2 separate regions of the Homo sapiens genome follow, and region 1 is linked to region 2. The links are contacts of gene promoters, found by promoter capture Hi-C in human tissues and cell types (Jung and others, 2019). All regions are on one chromosome and are shown on one strand. The core of a region is centred on a gene start or on the middle of the fragment in contact, and the rest is flanking DNA. Distances in the headings are between cores, read along the strand shown.

Region 1 (6,750 bases), core at 3,163-5,662, 140 kb after region 2:
ATGCAGCGGCTCCCGTTTGTAATCCCAACACTTTGGGAGGCCAAAGCAGCTGGACCACCTGAGGTCAGGAGTTTATGAGACCAGCCTGACCAACATGGAGAAACTCTGTCTCTACTAAAAATACAAAATTATCCAGGCATCGTGGCGCACACCTGTAATCCCAGCTACTCGGGAGGCTGAGGCAGAAGAATCGCTTGAACCCAGGAGGCAGAGGTTGCAGTGAGCCAAGATCGTACCACTGCACTCCAGCCTGGGCGACAAGAGCAAAACTCTGTCTCAAAAAAATAAATAAAGTCTTGGCTCTCCCCTGCTTGTCAGATAACTCAAGTCCCCATGGAGTCTAGGCTCCTGTCCCTTCTCCTGGCACCCTGAGCTCTGGGTCAAATCAGGTCTCTGCTTGGGTTCCCCCACTCAGGACACTGAGCATTAGCCCCCAGCCACAGCCACCCATATCTCCACATGGTGCTCTCAGAGTGTTGCTTCTCCCAATAACTTAACTTCCTAAATAAAATATATTCATCGCACATCCCGAGTAGAGGAGACAGAGGTGCCCACTCACTCCAAAGATCATTTGTCCAAACCTCAATTTCATGGCTCATAGAACCAAGACCTCAAAGGTAAAATGACCTGCCTAAGGACACATGGCTGACTACCTGAGCAGAGCTATAGTGACGGCCTCCCAGGTAGATGTTCTCACACTTAGCACCCCTAGACCTGGCATTGCCAGGTCCTTGACATTCGTCTGGGGGAGGTAAAGCAGGGGGTGTAGCATGTGTGTCAAGCCTACCAAGTCTTCATCAACCCAGGCTCTCCTGACTGGTCAGGGCTGGAAAGGGCCAAGACCCACCTGGTGCTTGGGGGTTGGATGGGTCGGTGTCTGGCAGTGTAGTGTGAGAGTAAAGAACGGGGGCAATATGGCTCCCTAGTACATGCTAGCGACCAGGAAGCAAAAAAATTTGCCACCAGCAGAGGGAGGGGAGTCTCAGTGTGGCTGCCTGGGGCCTCCTAGAAGGGCTGCAAACTGGGCACAGACAGACGCCCATTTGACTCCAGAGCCATCACATCAGCCTCACGCCCTTCCTCAGGCCCTGGTCAAGATGCAAGACTTTTGCCAAAGGCTCACACATTCTTTGCATTTCTCCAGTCTCTGAGCAGCTGCTGCAGGGCCTTTTCTCCTATGTTGATTTATTCTTTATTGTTCCTGAAATACACCCAGAGGCCTTTGGCACAGCATGCGGGCACAGCAGAGCATCCAGCCCAAGCCCCAAGTACACACCAACCAGACTCTCTGGGACCTGGGCCAAGCCAGCTGGAATGATGGGCCCCAGGTCAGACCCAGCAGCCAAGAAGGGAGACCAAAGATTCCACCTAGCCCCAGCCTTTGATTCCCCAGAGCTGTTCTCAGTACCTCAGAGGCTGGGATACCTTTAAGGGGGAGGACACACTTGGGAGGTCCCCAGGAAGCCCACACTAAGCTGAAACCAAGCCTTTCCCCTCTTCCTGTGCATGTGCCTGGCCGAGCAGTCCCCAGGCCCACAGCTGAGTCCTCCACAGAAGGGCCTCAGGGCTCAAGGCTGGGCTCCTGGCTGCCCTGTGAAGCATCTGGAGAGGGAGGCAGCAGGGAGGTCTTCCCCACCCTTCCCAGCCCAAGATATCTCCCCTACCAGCCAGTCTAATGGTGCCTGAATTCCTACTATCAGCACTTCATACCAAGGATCAAAGCATTGTTCCTTGTGCACATGAAAATAGCCGGAGGAAGTGTGGGAGCTGCAGGGTAAAAGTAGTCAGGGGCAATGTGTGCTGGCTTCTCCAATCACCAGCCTCTGTGAGCCTGGGGTTCCCTATTGGTGAATGGGCACAACAGTTTCATCTCAGTTATTGTGGGATTCAATGAGGTAATACATAGATGAAGCGCCGCCTGGCACAGGGTACGCACTCAATAAATGTGTTTCCTGTCTCCCTTGCTGGGTAGGGGTGGCTCAGACATCGTTATCAGTCTTTAACACCTTGGAGGAAATGAATAGTCCAACTCTTCCAGTTCCACAGCTGGCTGAGAGCAAGGCTGGCCAGGCAAGGGCGGGACAGGGAGACTCAAAGTCCTAGCAACAGTGTGGGGCTCTGCAGGCACGCAGAGCTTCCGGCCTACAGACCCAGGAGAGAGAGGTCTGGCCAGAAAGTCCAGAGGGCACCCAGCACAGGCCTCCTTTAAACTCAGCTATGCCAGCAGGGCCTGCCTACAGGGATACAGGGGGATGAGGGTATTTCCCAGATAATACCGGCAGAGCTTCCAGGCCCAAAGGATGAGCCGCCACCTCCTGGATTCACTCTAAGAAGAGCAATAAAGGGGAAGGTGCGATGGCCAGAGGGAGGCTGAGGAAGGGCTGCAGGAAGTAGAAGGGACTCCAGTGTGGCAGAGACACAGGGCCTACAGAAAGCAAGCAAGCCTGCCCAGAGGCCACCACAGTAAATGTCCCACAAGTGGAAGTGCCCGCCTGGTTATTTTTGGCGCCTCTTCTGCCCAAAGCCAGTAAGGAAAGGCAGCTGCTAGCAACACAGAAGGGCTGTTTACACTCAAGTGTGCAAGCACTGCAACAGGGACAGAAAGCACAACTAGCAGCCACCATGCAGATGGGCCTCTGCCCCGTTTTTCCCCTCCCAACTGTCCCCCGTTGTGTGCTGCACAGCTGACACAGTGTGGGTACTTCTGCTTTCACTCAGATCCAGCCTCCCAACCACAGGACTCACTCACGCACATGCAAACAAATAAATAACTATGGAGCCAGCTGAGGACTGAGCCACACCCAGGAGCCAAGACAGTATTCCTTTGGATTCTTCCTGCGCTCAAGCTGCCCTCCCAGCTTCCAAACTGGGAGAAGCAGCCACCAGGCGCAGGACACAGGAGCAGTCCCTTTCCACCCTCCCAAAGTGAAAGTGGAGACAGTCTTTACAACCTCAAGCATCTCACCACCTCTCGGCTTCCCCATTTGAAAATGAAGGATTCGGACTAGATGTCCCAAATGGTTTCCCAGCTCTGGAATTAGGACTATGACCCAAGACCAGCTGGGGCCTCAGACAGAGGAAGGCCAGGAGGGGAGGAGGATCTGTGCCAGGAACTGCCAGCTCACATGCCGTCTCGGGGTTGCAAGTTATCACTTAAGCCCATTTCTGAGCTATGGGGGCCTTACCTACTAAAGAAATGGCAAGTTCTGGCAACGGTAAGTTGGATAGGGTCCTCTGTCTGCCCAACTACTGGGAAAAGCAGGGAATCAAAATCTCTCACCATTTTCCTTCTTGTCTGGATTCCAATTCCCCAGAGAAGCTGAGCGGCTTTAGAGAGAAGCCCCTTCTGGCCAGCTACAAGCCTACTGTAGCTCACTCTCTCCATCCAAGCTTTAACTGGGATAAACCTTGCCCTGTGCTTTCCCCACTCTCCTTCCTTCCCAGGACTCCTGAAGGAAGAAGCACTGCCTGGAAAAAATGCTCTCACCACGAAAGCTCCCTGCGGCTGGGAGAAAGGCAGAGGGAACAGGGAGCACCTTCCCTGGCTGGCCACAGCACGAGGCTGTGTTCCAGGAAGAGCAACAGCAAGGGCGGCTGCCAGGGAAGCCTCAGCCCCAAGCCCCGGCTCTTCCCCACCAGCTCTTCCCCACCAGCCGAGAATGACAGCCAGCAACTGCAGCCCTCAGGGAGACCCCCAGCCCCACCCCAGCACAACTCCGGCTCTCCTCTGACAGTGGCAACTTTCTTCTTATATAATTCTTGGTGTTTCCTTCACCGTTGCACATAATTTTAATGGGTAAAAGAGCCAAAGCAGTCTTTAAGGAAAAACTCCCACCCTTGGCTCTACCCAAACCTCCTGCGAGGTCACACTGCGAGGCTTCAGGTGAAGCAAACAGGGGACTTTTTTTCCTTGGCTGAGAAAGCAGCCTTCCTCCTGCCCACCCACGTGAGCAGCTCAGCCTGGGGCCTGGGCGGGTAGGTTCCTGAGAGCACAATCTGATCTCTGGGAAGCTGGGCCCTCAACCCTCGGCTGCAGGGCCACAGTCCCTCTCAAAGGCACACAGACACTGGGTCTGGGCCACATGTCTAGGGTGGAGTGGATCAAGCTGTTGTTCCCAGGGCACAATAAACTTCATTTATACAAGCTTCAGTGGCCTGGTAGATTGCTTTCCTACTATAAACAGGACACCCTTCATTTTCTCTTCCTTGATAGGAGTCAAAGGCAAACACACTGGATCCAGTGGGAACTGGTGAAATGAGAGTTGCCATCTGTTGAATACCTAGTATGTGTCATTCACTCTGCATGCATAATCCTGTCTAATCTTCACAGCCTATGAAGTACTAGTATCATCCACATTTTACAGGTGAGGCAACTGAGGCCCAAGAAGTTAAGCAATGCCCAAAGCCACACAGCAAGAGGAGATGCTGGGGTATGAACTCAGGTCTGCCCAGGCCTCATTCCCACGCACCCATCAGACTTCCTTCAGTCACTGCCCAAGTGACTGTCCACACACCATCCAGGAACGGCGTTCTGAGTGTGGAAGCAGAAGTCGGTGTGGATGAATTTTGCTGGAGGCCTCCAGAATCTGAACTGATGCTCCAACTATTATTGCTCCCAAGTGTGTGACTGCGAGAGCCCATGTCAGTGTGTGTGTGTGTGTGTGTGTGTGTGTGCGCGCGCGCGTGCGCGCTGAGGTGGAGGGAGGGTGATCTGGATTCCAAATTGCAGTTTCCAACATTAAAGTTATGCTGTAATGCTTCTGATTCATAAAATGAGCTCATAGTCTCACAGTATCCTGAATGTTGCTTCGAATGCAAATGCAGGTCCCTTAGTAAGAATTGGGGATTTCAGCCTACTCCACCCTAGCCCCGGCCCAGCATGCAATTTTTCAGTCCCAGAGTCAAGAGTTCTCATGTGCAGAAAGAAGCAATTCCTCCAACAGAATGCGGCCACTGGCTCTGCTTCCTGCCACCTGCAGTGAGTCAGGGAAGAATGGAGCCCCAGGCTGCTTCTGTACTGATGCATGCACGCCTGCACACACACAGGAAGGGTGCCAATCTGGGCTGACCAAAGGAAGTGCCCAGGCTAGCAGATCCCTAGGGAGATGGCTCCACAACTCTTTCACCCTGAGGTCCCCTTAGGGTCAGGATGACCGACACATGCACTCCACAAGGCCAGCTACAGGGCAGTGCCAGGAAACTGGGTTCACCAGCCCCAGAATCACCCACGGTGGACTGACATTTTTGAAACCAGTGATGCAATCTGAGGAGGTTCCAGGAGCAGGGACTCACTGGGCCCAACACATGACAAGTACACATTTTTTTTGATGGAGATCTTTCACTAATTTGTTCAACTAACATGCACTAAGACCAGGTGAGGTAGTTCAAGACTGTAATCCCAGCACTTTGGGAGGCCAAAGTGGGTGGATTTCTTGAGCCCAAGAGTTCAAGACCAGCCTGGGCAACATGGCAAAACCCCATATCTACAAAAATAGAAAAATTAGCCAGGTGTGGTGATGTGTACCCGTAGTCCCAGCTACTTGGGAGGCTGAGGTGGGAAGATTGCTTGAGCCCAGGAGGCTGAGATTGCAGCGACCTGAGATCGCACTACTGCACTCCAGCCTGGGCGACAGAGAAAGACCCTATCTCTAACAACCAAAAAAAAAAAAAAACACTAAACACTTACTAGATGCCAAGCAGCATTGTGGGACCCATTCAAGCAGAGGCTACCAAATACTGAAATGTGCTTTAAGCATTTTACGTATACTAACTCACAGAATCCTCACAGCAACTCTATGAAGGAGATACTGTATAGGAACTCTAACTCAGAGTCTTTGTTTTTGACCACCACACTGCAGTATGTACACAAATAACTACATAAGGTGGAAATGAGTGTTCAGAAGATGGCTACAGCCTTCAGAAGTGGCATTTGAAACAGGATTAGAAGGATAAGCTGGAAACCCCCAGCCACTTTGTGGCTGTCCCCACCCCAGCATGAGCAAAGTTTTCTTCTGGGAGACCCAAATGCAAGAGAGGGGCTCTCAACCTGAAGATTCCTGGACTGGGCCCATTCCCCTTCCCCTCTTCTGTCAGAGGTCTTGGCACCCCTGGGCAGCCTTTCTCTGGGGACTCTAGACACAGGAGGCCCTCAGCTGAATCCACAACTGCATGTTGTCTTTTCTTGTGTTCCACTTATTGAAAGCAGCAGCACACAGGGTCAAACACTGGGGCTATTTTAAAATCCCACATGTAAAAATTAAATTCTCATCCCCATGGGCACTCCAGGGCGCTCTTTCCTGGGGCGGGGTGAGGAGCTGACAGAGTCACGGGAGTGGGGGTTCTGCTGGCACTTGGAGAGGCCACACTGGCAGTGGCTAGGCTGTTCCAGAGCAAGCTGGCAAGCTGTATGACCTGGGGGCATCCTCCAGGTTCTTCACCCCCTTGTCCCCCCGGGAGCTACACGGACCAGAGTAACCAGCCAGAGGCCAATCCAATTAGAGTGGAGACTGGACCAGGGCCATGCAACGAGATGGTTTATCACAGTAATTGAATGTTTACGCTCCTATTATTCACTGTCCAGAGCAGTTGGAAAAGGAAGACCTACGAATTCTCAACCCGGGAAGGCTTCTCCTTTTCCCTGGGTTCTGAAGCCACTTAACACCCAAGGAAAGGGTGCATTTCTCTGATCCAAAAGGGGCGTGTGCCACACCTTTGGTGGGAGGCTCTAGAGCAAGACAGGTGGTTTCTCCC
Region 2 (5,938 bases), core at 3,376-5,875:
GGGATTATAGGCATGAGCCACCATGCCCAGCGGGGTTTTCTTTTTTCTTTTGAGATAGAGTCTTGCTCTGTTGCCCAGGCTGAAGTACAGTGGTGCAATCTTGACTCACTGCAAGCTCCGCCTCCTGGGTTCAAGCGATTCGCCTGCCTCAGCCTCCCGAGTAGCTGGGATTACAGGCGCCTGCCACTGTGCCTGCCTAATTTTTGTACTTTTAGTAGAGATGGGGTTTCACCATCTTGGCCAGGCTGATCTTAACCTCCTGACCTTGTGACCCACCTGCCTTGGCCTCCCAAAGTGCTGGGATTACAGGCATGAGCCACTGTGCCCCGCCAGGGTTTTTCTTTTCTATAGCATAGTCAGTCTGCAAATTTTCCAAACTTTTATGCTCTGCTTCCTCTTGAACGCTTTGCTGCTTACATATTTCTTCTGCCAGTTACCCTAAATCATCTCTTTCAAGTTCAAACTTCCACAGATCTCTGGGGCAGGGGCAAAATGCCACCAGCCTCTTTGCATAGCAAGAGTGACCTTTACTTCAGTTCCCAACAAGTTCCCCATCTCCATCTGAGACCACCTCAGCCTGGACTTCATTGTTCATATCACTATCAGCATTTTGGTGAAAGCCATTTAATGAGCCTCTAGGAAGTTCCAAACTTTCTCACATCTTTCTGTCTTCTGAGCCCTCCAAGTCTCTAGGCAGTTCTAAACTTTCCCACGCTTTCCTGTCTTCTTCTGAGCCCTCTAAACGGTGCCAACTGCTGCCTGTTACCCAGTTCCAAAGTCGCTTCCACATTTTTGGGTATCTTTACAGCAGTGCCCCACTCTCTGTGATACTAACTTACTGTATTAGTCTGTTCTCACACTGCTAATAAAGACCTACCTGAGATGGGATAATTTACGAAGGAAAGAGATTTAATTGACTCACAGTTCAGCATGGCTGAGGAGGCCTCAGGAAACTTACAATCATGGCAGAAGGGGAAGCAAACATGTCCTTCACATGGCGGCAACAAAAAGTGCTGAGCAAAAGGGGGAAAGCCTTTATAAAACCATCAGATCGCATGAGAACTCACTCACTATCACCAGAACAGCATGAGACTAACCACCCCCATGATTCAATTTCCTCCCACCAGGTCCCTCCCAGGACATATGGGGATTATGGGAACTATAATTCAAGATGAGATTTGGGTGGGGACACAGCCAAACCATATCAGGTGTAATGCTAACCCTCTGTGTACAGGTTTTGTGAACGATATTGATTGTATGGGGGAGACTGAGCTCATGTCACTATGCCATCAATGAGAATTGGCTGGTGAATACCAATCCTCCATAGCCATGACTGGGTTGCTGAATAAAATGATGCAGTGTGCATCCAAAAGCTGCCTCTTCCTCTGTGGGTGATCTGGGAGTGAGCCAAACATGGGATGGACAATGTCATACCTGGAAAGCTGGCAGATGATGGGATCCTGGACATTGGGCATGCTGGGGGTGCTCCTGCATATCACCCCTGGGTACAAGAAACATCATTGGGCCAGTAGTCTAAAAGTATGCACCATGCTTATTAGGAACCTGCCAGGTCGTGGCTGATTCTAGGTTTAGGTCCTCTATGAAATTTTTGGTACCATATATAGGAGTCAGTGCTCATGAAAAAAATGATAAGAAAACTGTGCCTGATATTGCTGCTTCCAGTGCCACTGCCTTGGCAGCACAGGGACATCCTTCAACTCCCTTGGGAAGGTTGTTCTATTATTTATTTTATTTTATTTTATTTTTGAGACAGAATCTCGCTCTGTTACCCAGGCTGGAATGCAGTGGTGCGATCTCGGCTCACCACAACCTCTGCCTCCCGGGTTCAAGCAATTCTCCTGCCTCAGCCTCCCGAGTAGCTGGGACTACAGGCACGCACCACCATGCCTGGCTAATTTTTGTATTTTTAGTAGAGACGGGGTTTCACCATGTTGGCCAGACTGGTCTCAAACTCCTGACCTCGTGATCCACCCGCCTCAGCCTCCCAAAGTGCTGAGATTACAGGCATGAGCCACCGCGCCTGGCCAGGTTGTTTTAAACAACAGAATTCCTCTACCCTTTTTTTTTTTAGACTAATTGGGAGGAGTGTGTGCCACTGCCAACACCTCCTGGTGTACCTGGATAAACACCTCAGGCATGGTGGAGACATAGGTAGAGGATCTGGAAGCAGGCCTACTGGTTGCAGTCAGAGTGGCTACCTAAAGAATCTTTCTTGGACCTCAAAACTTCTTGCCTGGATCACTAGGACTTGGGGGTAGGCCACAGCTCCAAGCAAGCCTGATCATCCTGCTTATTATAGTAGTCTCCTGGGCCTAATGCAATATATTCCGGCCATGGCTTAACAATGTTGCACCGAGATTGTTTCAGTCAAGTGTCGCTTTTTTTTTTTTTTCTTTTAGAGGGAGTCTTGCTCTGTCGCTCAGGCTGGAGAGCAGTGGCGAGATCTCGGCTCACTGCAATCACCACCTCCCGGGTTCAAGCAATTCTCCTGCCGCCGCCTTCTGAATAGCTGGGATTACAGGCGCGTGCTGCCACGTTCAGCTAATTTTTGTATTTTTAGTAGAGACAGGGTTTCACCATGTTGGCCAGGCTGGTCTCAAACTCCTGACCCCAAGTCATCCGCCCCCCTCGGCCTCCCAAAGTGCTGGGATTACAGGCATTAGCCACCGTGCCCGACCAAGGTGCCATATTAATATGATCAGACAAACCTCTGCCTCCAGATCCTGGGGGTCTGGAGGGCATATGAAATGTACTAGGTTTACTAAAGGAGGTATCTGGGTTGGGGATGGACTGCAGGGCAGTTCTCTGGTTGGCCTTGGACTGACTCAGTTCTCCCCTCTTTCTCACTAGTAGTTCTCAAGCATAGAACGTGCTGGGAATGTAACATCCTGAGAGAGGGACGGACTGGCTGGAATAGCCCTGGCTCTATTCCAGCCCCTCCCTACAAACAGGATGTCTTTCAATGCTTTAACCCAGCAGTCACATGACCCCAGAGTACAAAACTCAGGGCAGCTGCAGTGCAAGTGGGGCACACACACATGAGATTCCATCACCCAGGCAGCATTCCTGAGCCTTGGGGGACTGGTTTCCAATGATTCTTAGGCTTCTGTCATTCTTTGCTGCCTATCTGTAAGTAATAAATCCAGTTCATGTAAATTGTTGTATTAAATATATGAATGTGTTTTCTCACTGGACTCAGACAAGTTGGTAACCAGCATACAGTGAACTTGCTTCATAGAGTCTAATACCTTTTTGTTCAGTTTATACATGTTTACTGAGCTGGGCATCACTATATGCTCTTCTTCCTTCTCCACCCTGCTATGTTCCCAGCTAGGTTGAGCTGTGTGGTTGGGTTTGGCCAAAGAGAGGCATTAGCAAGATACTGAAAAACAAGAGGAGAGTCAAGGGACTTATAGTCTCCTCCTTCCTGCCACAAACCATAGGTTCCTTCTAAAAAAGGTACAACTCCTATCAGACTGCCCCCTTCCCTTGAACCTTCAGATTCAGGGTTCTACACCGAATCTTGTTTCATTGTTTTTGTTTTTAAATCTTGCCCATGCCTTTGTAGATAGTACCTTTATAAAACTCTCCTCAATTACACAGGCTGAGAGTGCCACTTGCTTACTGCCAGAACTCTGTATGCATACAACCCAAAATGGACTCTGCCAGTGATTAGATTTGTGAGGTAAGAAACAAAACAAAACTTTCACTGGGTACTAACCTACAGGTGTGTCAGTGTAGTGTTTTTACACATTAGCCCATTTAATGGTCACAATAAGCCTTTTCAGATAAGAAAACTGAATTTAGAGGGTTATGTTTCTTGCTAAAGATCACCAGGTATTAATATTAAGGATCAGGGTCAGACCAGAACTCGGCTAGGTCTGCCTCCCTAAACATCTGCTTTGCTCCAGGTACCATTAGCCCTGGAAAAAAGGCTTGGTAAGGGACTGAGGGGTAAAGGACGGATTACGACCATGTTTCTCCAAGGGGTCACCTGAGTACAATCACCTGGGATGCTTTTTCAAAATCTAGATTCTTGGACTGTATCTCTCTCAATCCTTTAGCTCTCAGTGGTTTTTGTGCCTCTATTTCGACACTCACCACATTGGATTGCAGGAATAGTCATTAACTCTTTTTTTTTTTTTTTAGACGGAGTTTTGCCCTTGTTGCCTAGGCTGGAGTACAATGGTGCAATCTTGGCTCAATGCAACCTCTGCCTCCTGGGTTCAAGCAATTCTTCTGCCTCAGCCTCCCAAGTAGCCGGGATTACAGGCATGCGCCACCACACCTGGCTATTTTGTATTTTCAGTAGAGATGAGGTTTCACTCTGTTGGTCAGGCTGGTCTTGAACTCCTAACCTCAGGTGTGATCCACCCACCTCGGCCTCCCAAAGTTCTAGGATCACAGGCGTGATCCACCGCCCCCGGCCGGATTGGTCATTAACTCTTATTTCAGCAGATACTCTTTCATTTGGGACACTGGTGTATTTGCACAAATTCTAGGCGCCCCACGCAGCGGCCTGGAGCCTGTCCCCAAGTCCAACCAATGGGAGTAGTGTTAAGGGCTCCGCCCTCGACTACTTTCCAGCGCTCGGCAAAGCCGCCAGGCCCGCCCACTGACTCCGCGGAGCTGGGTCGCCCCTGTTCTACCCAGATTGGGATGGCAGCGACGCTGATCCTGGAGCCCGCGGGCCGCTGCTGCTGGGACGAGCCGCTGCGCATCGCAGTGCGCGGCCTGGCCCCGGAGCAGCCAGTCACGCTGCGCACGTCCCTGCGCGACGAAGAGGGCGCGCTCTTCCGGGCCCACGCGCGCTACCGTGCCGACGCCCGCGACGAGCTGGACCTGGAGCGCGCGCCCGCGCTGGGAGGCAGCTTCGCGGGGCTCCAGCCCATGGGGCTGCTGTGGGCGTTGGAGCCCGAGAAAGCCTTGGTGCGGCTGGTGAAGCGCGACGTGCGGACGCCCTTCGCCGTGGAGCTGGAAGTGCTGGACGGCCACGACACCGAGCCCGGGCGGCTGCTGTGCCTGGCGCAGAACAAGCGCGACTTTCTCCGGCCGGGGGTGCGGCGCGAGCCGGTGCGCGCGGGCCCGGTGCGCGCCGCGCTCTTCCTGCCGCCGGATGAGTAGTCTGCCCAGAATTTGGTCGAGCTCTGCGACCCCCACCGGCCCCTTTCCTGTCCTGGGAATCGCGTGATTGTGGAACATCCCTGAACTTGTTCCTTCGCTCCAGAGTCTGTCATGGATTCTGAGTCTGGGCGTCCGCTGTTGCCCAGGCTGGAGTGCCGTGGCTGGATCGTAGCTCACACTGCAGCCTCGAACTCCTGGGCTCAAGTCCTCTCGCCTCAGCCTCCTGAGTAGCTACTCCAGTCTTTCCTTTTTAAGTTTCACGTCCCTCCCTGGAGGCACCACCACTTTAGCTATGTGCTGAATAGTGCATTCAACTTATTATATATTTATTGAGAGCCACTATGTGCCAGCCATGTGGTTTTGTTTGAATACGATATGGGCAAAACCTTAAGCTGATGTGCAAGAAGGATTTTTGCCTCCTTTCACATCAAACTTCCAAAGAAGCTAAAATCCACAGTATTGGCAATGCCCTTTAATTGTTTAAAAACACACACAAAACTGCCTGACAGTCCTCTCCCTTCTATCATAAACATGCTGTACGTGGTTCTCAACCTGCAATGATTAGCCGCCCTCCCTGGGGGAAATTTGGCAATATCTGGAGACATTTGTGGTTGTCATATCTGAAGGGAGAGGTGCTATTGGCATCTAGCAGGCAGAGGCCAGAGATGCTGCTAAACATTCCACAATGCACAGGACAACCACCAGAACAAAGAATTATCTTGCTGAAAATGTCTGTACTACTGAGGTTGAGGAACCCTAGTCTAAGTAAACACAGGATGTTTGCTAGGTAAAG

What was found. Contacts are between HindIII fragments. The study calls those that stand out against the background at their distance.
Region 1: a contact is called between a fragment that was not itself captured here and the fragment with the promoter of ACOT6 in region 2, in 1 of the 25 tissues and cell types used here (hippocampus).

What each region holds. Positions count from the first base shown.
Region 1 is chr14:73,751,623-73,758,372 of GRCh38, forward strand. All of the region lies in intron 1 of MIDEAS (mitotic deacetylase associated SANT domain protein), which reads right to left. Among named protein-coding and RNA genes, the nearest start is that of MIR4505, 3.7 kb to the right of the region's middle. RefSeq lists enhancers at 2,745-2,994, 3,295-3,364, 3,395-3,474, 4,878-4,957, 6,649-6,698 and a silencer at 4,744-5,038. The HindIII fragment of the contact is 7,118 bases long and covers 854-6,750 here.
Region 2 is chr14:73,607,892-73,613,829 of GRCh38, forward strand. It overlaps ACOT6 (acyl-CoA thioesterase 6), which reads left to right and starts at 4,626. Exons shown (of 3, transcript NM_001365788.1): 1 at 4,626-5,141. The coding sequence starts at 4,681. It also overlaps a transcript of HEATR4 not described here. RefSeq lists enhancers at 4,737-4,786, 4,804-5,303, 4,837-4,886. The HindIII fragment of the contact is 22,654 bases long and covers 1-5,938 here.